Linked DNA regions of Homo sapiens: region 1 is linked to region 2. The links are contacts of gene promoters, found by promoter capture Hi-C in human tissues and cell types (Jung and others, 2019). All regions are on one chromosome and are shown on one strand. The core of a region is centred on a gene start or on the middle of the fragment in contact, and the rest is flanking DNA. Distances in the headings are between cores, read along the strand shown. Region 1 has its middle 21 kb from the start of LINP1. Region 2 holds the start of TAF3 (TATA-box binding protein associated factor 3).

Region 1 (3,681 bases), core at 862-3,361, 1.1 Mb after region 2:
CTCTGTCTCAAAAAAATAAAAACTAAAATTCATCTCCTATAATTATGTATGGTTCTGTTTATATTTTTTCAAAGTATTTAGATGATGGAACTTCTGCCTTTGTTAAGGGTATTTGTACAGGATATGAGGTATTTGAGTTATACAAATCTTGCTCTCAAGGATCCAAGACCAGTCAATACTTTCATATAAACTTGGAAATAATTACCCTAGACCAGAGATCACTGGTAATTATTATAAAACTGTTTCTGTAAATGGACAAATAGTAAATATTGCTGAAAACTATGTAACTCTGTTGTTGTTGTAGCCCAAAAGTAGCCATAGATAATATGTAGTGATTGAGCTTGGCTGTATTCCAATAAAACTTTATTTAGCAAAACAAGAAATGGGCCAGATTGAACTCAAGGGCCATGGTTTGCTGACCCTCATCCTAGACCATCACAATAAAATAGAATCAGTGTTTGTGAGTTGGCAATTGTCCTCTCCACTGTGGATAGATTGTCCAGTGTTACCTGAGCTCCTAGCGAAGGAAGGTGGGAAACCTGAAGAACTTGGGGAGTGTCCCCGGAATAAGACACATTACTCATTAATGGTGGTGGTGAAGGGCAAAGAGATATTTGGTACCTACACTGTGCTTGGTACCTTGCATAATTGGTAAATCCATACAGTACTTCCAGCTAGGCATTTAAACATCCAATTTATATGTATGGAAATCTGAGGTCTGGGTCATGCTGCTTCTTTCTGCCACTAAACTGTTAAATCATGGCACCAAGATTCAAAACCAAGTCCATCTTACTCCAAACCTGCTCTTTCTCATATGTTTTCTTTAAGAAAAAAGCAGGTCAAATCTCCTTTGCCCATCTGTCTCCTTTTACTCACAAGTTTTAGCAGAGCCAGTGTGTTATAGTTCCCTGTATGCAATTCATTAGAGCCTTCTCCTGCAACTCTTAGTAAAAGAGTTTTATAATAGTGAGTCACCAACGCCCTACCTCCTTCAGCATCTTTACAAGAACCAATGAGAAGAAGCTGGAACTTACTGAAGACACAAGCTCAGAGCAGTTTGTAAAGCTTTGTTAGCTGAGCCAGCCAATGGAAAATCAGCAGCAACAGCCCCAGTTCATCATGGAACACACAAATAGAAGAGATTTCATAAGCCAGTGATCTGATGCTAACAGTATTTGGCTTAATTCTCCTAACACCATTCAAGGTAAAACACACACAGACACACACACACACAGACACACACACACACACACACACACGAATTATTGAAATGACTTGGCCTCTTCAAAAAGTGCCATTTGAAGAAAAGTAGACAATATCTAAAGAAATAACAACCTATACTCTCTTTGAAGACCTGAATAAAAACAAGCTATTTTGGCAGAAGCATTGAAAGTTTTTCTTTCGCGTGCTCAGAAAACAAAATTTGAATCAATTTCTAAACTACAACAGGCTATTTCTTTTTGCTTCTGGGAGTATGCACTGGCCTCACTATTAGCCGCAAACAATGAAAAGACTTGCCTTTGTAAGCCACATAGGTGGCTTAAATACCGATTTTAAGAATTGCTGAAAACCTAGCTTCTTTCAAGAGTACACTGATAATAATTACCATCCTTTTAACATACATTTAATACCATCTTATTTTTCTTTTCTTTTTTTAAAAAATTTTTTAAAAATGTTACTTTAAGTTCTGGGGCATGTGCAAAACATCCAGGTTTGTTACATCGGTATCCGTGTGCCATGGTGGTTAGCTGCACCTATCAACCCGTCACCTAGGTTTTAAGCCCTGCATGCATTAGGTATTTGTCCTAATGCTCTCCCTCCCCTTTCCCCCAACCCCCGAAAGGCCCCAAACACCATCTTATTTTTCTTGTTGGAGAGAGGATGAGAGGGAACAGCTGATGGGAAGAGTAACTGAGTTTCAAATTGCAGTTCTCTGGAAATAAGCCCCACAATATGATGCAAATAACAAGTCACAGATGACAGTATAGCCACTGTTGGAGGGTAGGCTGTCTTTAGGCTAAGCATTCAAGAAGCCCTTCATGTCAAGCAAGCCTCAGCTTGGACAATTTGATACGCTTTTTTTTTCTTTCCTTTTTTTTTTCTTTTTTTTTTGAGATGTAGTCTTAACCTGTTGCCCAGGCTGGAGTGCAGTGGCGCAATCTCAGCTCACTGCAACCTCCACCTCTGGGTTCAAGTGATTCTTGTGCCTCCGCCTCCCAAGTAGCTGGGACTACAGACATGCACCACCATGCCCGGCTAATTTTTGTATTTTTAGTAGAGATGGGGTTTCGCCATGTTGGCCAGGCTGGTCTCAAACTTCCAACCTCTGGTGATCCGCCTGCCTCGGCCTCCTGAAGTGCTGGGATTATAGGTGTGAGCCACTGTGCTTGGCCTTTTTTTTTTTCTTGACAGAGTCTCACTCTGTCACCCAGGCTGGAGTGCAATGTTGCAATCTCAGCTCACTGCAACCTCTGCCACCCAGGTTCCAGAAATTCTCTCACCTCAGCCTCCCGAGTAGCTGGGATTACAGATGTCCACCACCACGCCCAGGTAATTTTTTTGTATTTTTAGTAGAGACAGAGGTTCACCATGTTGGCAAGGCTGAGAGGCTGAGGCGGGAGGATCACCTGAAGTCAGGAGTTGATAAGCTATTTTTTATTGCACCTGTGTATGGCACACTACCATGGCCACCCACTCAGTATACACAAGACTGCAGTGTTTCAAAGACACCGAGCAAATTGAGGTTCCCACAGATCTCCTGAGAGCTGATCAAAATTAAAATTCTCATTTCTGGGCTAGCAGGCTTTCTTTTGTTCCCAGGTAAGTCTTGGAATTTTCTGGAGAACTTCTGACAGGAGAACTTCTTGGCAAATGACCATTTTGTTCAAAAAATAAACTAGAGCTATTTTTTCTTCTATGGCATGCAAGAAACAAGTTGCCATAAAGAGAGCAAGAGCTTACCCTGGTTAAATCAAGGACGTTGGGGAAGGTGTCATCTCTGTGTCAATACCATGGCTTGGGCGTCAGAGACTCGACCAGGGAATTCCGTATATCCATGTTTTGCGGTAAGAACAAACACGAGACTAAAGTGTACATTCTTGTTTCTTCATTTAATAGCTTTTTAAGGTAGGTAAATTAACTGGACAGGTGCCTGAGTTTTTTTACACCAGTTAAAAGAAAATAATAATATCCACCAACAGGGCTGTCCTGAGAACAAATGTGCTGTGTAGACTGTAAAGTCACATTTACAACTAAGGTATTAAAATCCTTCCTCAGGCCGGGTGCAGTGCCTCACACCTGTAATCTTAGCACTTTGGGAGGCCTGGGCAGGCAGATCACCTGTGGTCAGGAGTTCGAGACCAGCCTGGCCAGCATGGTGAAACCCCATCTCTACTAAATATACAAAAATTAGCCAGGCTTGGTGGCATGCACCTGTAATCCCAGCTATTCAGGTAGCTGAGGCATGAGAATCGCTTGAGCCTGGGAGAAGGAGGCTGCAGTGAGACAAGACTGCACTACTGCACTCCAGCCTGGGCAACAGGAGTGAAACCCTGTCTCTCAAAATAAAATAAAATAAAATAAAATCCTTCCTCAAAATAGCTAATGGATGCTAGGCTTAATACCTGGGTGATGGGGTGATCTGTGCAGCCAACCACCATGGCACATTTATCTATGTAACAA
Region 2 (3,265 bases), core at 58-2,557:
CTTTAACAAAACAAAATATCCTATGAAACACTTCATTCAGTTCTCCAGCTCACCACCTTAAACATCATGACTTGAAACTAAAATGAGTGGTAGTTTCCTCTCCTCAACAAACACACATACAATGCTTCACATCAACAAGATAATGTGGAGCTTCTATTAAAATATTCCATTCCTTCCATTAAATTATTAAATACCACTAGCTATAGATATTACCAGACATTCATTTAAAACTCATAAGTACTGTAGCCCAGATTACCTGGAGAATCTTGTCAACTGCCCACGGTCCCTCTATCCTACTTCGATAGCCACTGACATCTCACTGGTAACCGAGACGTAAGTGAAAGTACATCTAATCAGCGAAACTGACAAAGTCAGCCTTGGAAAAACAGTAAATGGAGATGTCGTTCACGAAACGAACAGATACAGAAAGACGAGGCAGTGTCCCTAACGGAGCAGAGCTGTCAACGAGTCTATGTAGTTAGGAGCCCAGGAATGGCCAGTCTTGTAAGAAACGGCCGGTAGACGGAGCGCCTGTGACAACTAGTTGTAGTAGTTTGCGGGCAAGGGAGAAAAAGGACCGAGGTAAAAGAGGGTGTAGGGCACGCTGGGGGTGGATCTACCCGCAGCAAACAGGAGACAATGAGAGAGATCCAGACACAATTCAGAGCGGAGGAGCGGTAGGAGGGTGTGGAGCTGGGAGCGAAGACCCGACTCCCGGGCTGGTGGCGGGAAGTTAGCGGATAAGGAAGAGGCACCCGAAGGATGACTAGAGTTTGGAGCGGCAGTGGAAGCCCAGGGACGTGGGAGGCCGAGGAAACAGCAGATCTCGAGGCGGGGTGCGGGATGCACACCCCGGGGACGCGGAGGGACAGGGAGAGCGAAGGTGTCACCCTTGACTTGCCGGGGCAGCCCTCCCGCACCCAGCCCGGTACTCACAGAGCTCAGAGTACCGATGGCAGCCCCGGCCCAGCTGCTGCAGATAGCGCTGCAGCACGTCCGTGAGGAGGTGGCAGGCGCTGAGCTGCACCGAGTCCCAGCCCAGCGCCTGGCAGATCTGCGCCACCGAGACCCTCAACAACGACCTGGAGTAACTCTCGCACATCCCGCTGCGTGGACGCCACCGCAGCCCTTGCTGCCACTGCTCTCCAGCCCCGCCGCCAGACCTTAGCAGGGTCCCCGATTCATCCTCTAGGGCTTCCGCGGCGGGGAAAGGGTCCCCCGGACCCCCGGCGACCACCTCAAAGCCCCAGCAGCACGGAGCGCGCCAGCCTGAGAGCCGCCATTTTGGACTCGCTCCGCCTCCCGCTGGACGGCCGCCGGGGCGAGGCAGCATAAGCCGAATGCCGAGCGCGGCGATGAGAAAGCTCCGCCCCTTGGGAGCGGAACGATTCCTCGGGATCGCCTCTGAGGCCTGGAAGCCGGCCGGAAGCGGGCGTGGGGCGCGCAGGTGGAGGAGGCGCCCAGGGCGGCAGGTGCTGGGGCGCTCACCTGGGGGACAGCGGTGACGAAAACGCCAGTGTTTTAGAGGCAAACGAGGGATCTGGGATACGACATTGACAGGTTAGAGAGTTAGCACTAATAACGTTAGTCATATTAGAGAGTTATGTGCTAGAGAGAAGTTTGGGGCGTGGGAACTTACGGAGCTCGCCAAACGCAGACCTGCGCTGGTGTTGCCTCAGCTAAAAATCTGTGTATTGAGCTGCTTGCCACTGCAAAGATTAAATAAAGTCCAAGCTGTTCCGCATGCCCTTCAAAGCCCTTCGCAATAGGGCAGGAACTAGGAGGACTCTGTGCCAAATTAATGGGGGCCTCAAAAAACTCAGTCATCAAGATCGATAATATTTTAACAGTTTTTTTAAAAAAATCCAAATCCATGCCATAAACTCCTGACTCACTCATGTCATTCTAATCCCAGCCCTGGTTCCAATAAAACTTTTTTTTTTTTTTTTTTTTTAAAAAAAACAGGTAAGCTGCCTGTGGGCTATAGTGTGCGATTTGAGCATCGCGGCTGTGACCTATCGGGGGATGGGGACCTCGGCTGCCTACAGAGGCCAAACCGAGCCTTAAACCGGTGTCGCAGGCCGAGTGTCCTGGGAACGGTTGCCTACCCCAGAGCCTTCTCCCAGCTCCATCCAAGTATTGCCAGAAATCGGATTTAGGGATAAATATCTTGATTTTTAAATACAGAATTGGGAACACATCTCAAAAGCCAAACTGATCCCACGGTTAGTCTAGATTCAGCCTGCAGGTCGCCCGATTGTAGTGGCTGAACTATGCGGTTTCTTAAATATGCCCTTCTGTACTTATCACAGTGTATTTAGTTTATGTGCTCCTCCAATAAATTGCGAGTTTATGAGTGGCTCTATATTCCTCCGACAGGGACTATTCCAGAACTTTGAACATGATATTCACATTTTTCAAAGTCTGGGAAACTCAATAATAGAACTGAAATTATGGTTCTTCAGCTAAATGACGATCTGCAGAGAAGCAAGGTACTAAAGGGCAAGGTGCCTGCATTTACTCCCTGGACACTCTGTCCCCAAGTTATCAGGAACATTGTGTTGCTAAATCTATGAGACATTTTTCAGTCCTAGCCGTACTTGATTATTTTGTAGCTATTTGATAATGTTGAACGCTTCTGTAACATTGAAACTCTCTTGCGCCTTGGATTTCACAAATCTGTCCCGCTACCGCCGCCACCCTGGGTGTTTGTTCCTCTTCATTTGCCTTTCTGTGTATAGGGGAGGGGATTTTATTTCGGAAAATTTCAAACCTACAGAAAAGTTGAAACAAAATCATAGACTCACGTGTACACTTCAACTAGATTCACCAATTGTTAACATTTTGCCAATTTACTATATATTTTGTATTTATATATGCACGCAGGTATTTTTTTTCCAGCAGTTTGAAAATAAGCTGCAAACTTCATGACACTTAACCCCACCACACCTCGACATGTATCACCCCAAAACAAGAACATTCCCCCACATAACTATACACAAGACCATATGTCACAGGCTTGGTTCCCCAGGAAGTCAACTCTGAAATAGAGATGAGCCTGCAGAAAGTTCATTGAGGGATCCTCCTGGGACTTGGGGGAAGGAGTGAAAGCCAGGGTGCAGTGAATTCCTTGGCAAGAAAGCCTCAGCCAAGCCAATGCCATAGTGTGCAGAAGCTGGAGTGGCCCTTCAGAGCTTCCCTGAATCCAAACAAGAAGACTGGACCTTTATATTCCCATAGGAACAGGTCACTGCATGAGGGCTAC

Evidence for each region. Contacts are between HindIII fragments. The study calls those that stand out against the background at their distance.
Region 1: a contact is called between a fragment that was not itself captured here and the fragment with the promoter of TAF3 in region 2, in 1 of the 25 tissues and cell types used here (dorsolateral prefrontal cortex).

What each region holds. Positions count from the first base shown.
Region 1 is chr10:6,714,071-6,717,751 of GRCh38, reverse strand. No RefSeq gene overlaps it. Among named protein-coding and RNA genes, the nearest start is that of LINP1, 21 kb to the left of the region's middle. The HindIII fragment of the contact is 3,958 bases long and covers 133-3,681 here.
Region 2 is chr10:7,816,547-7,819,811 of GRCh38, reverse strand. It overlaps TAF3 (TATA-box binding protein associated factor 3), which reads right to left and starts at 1,307. Exons shown (of 7, transcript NM_031923.4): 1 at 937-1,307. The coding sequence starts at 1,102. It overlaps LOC105376392 (a long non-coding RNA gene), which reads left to right and starts at 1,449. Exons shown (of 3, transcript XR_001747356.1): 1 at 1,449-1,560. RefSeq lists enhancers at 595-1,112, 1,241-1,300, 1,113-1,631. The HindIII fragment of the contact is 13,699 bases long and covers 1-3,265 here.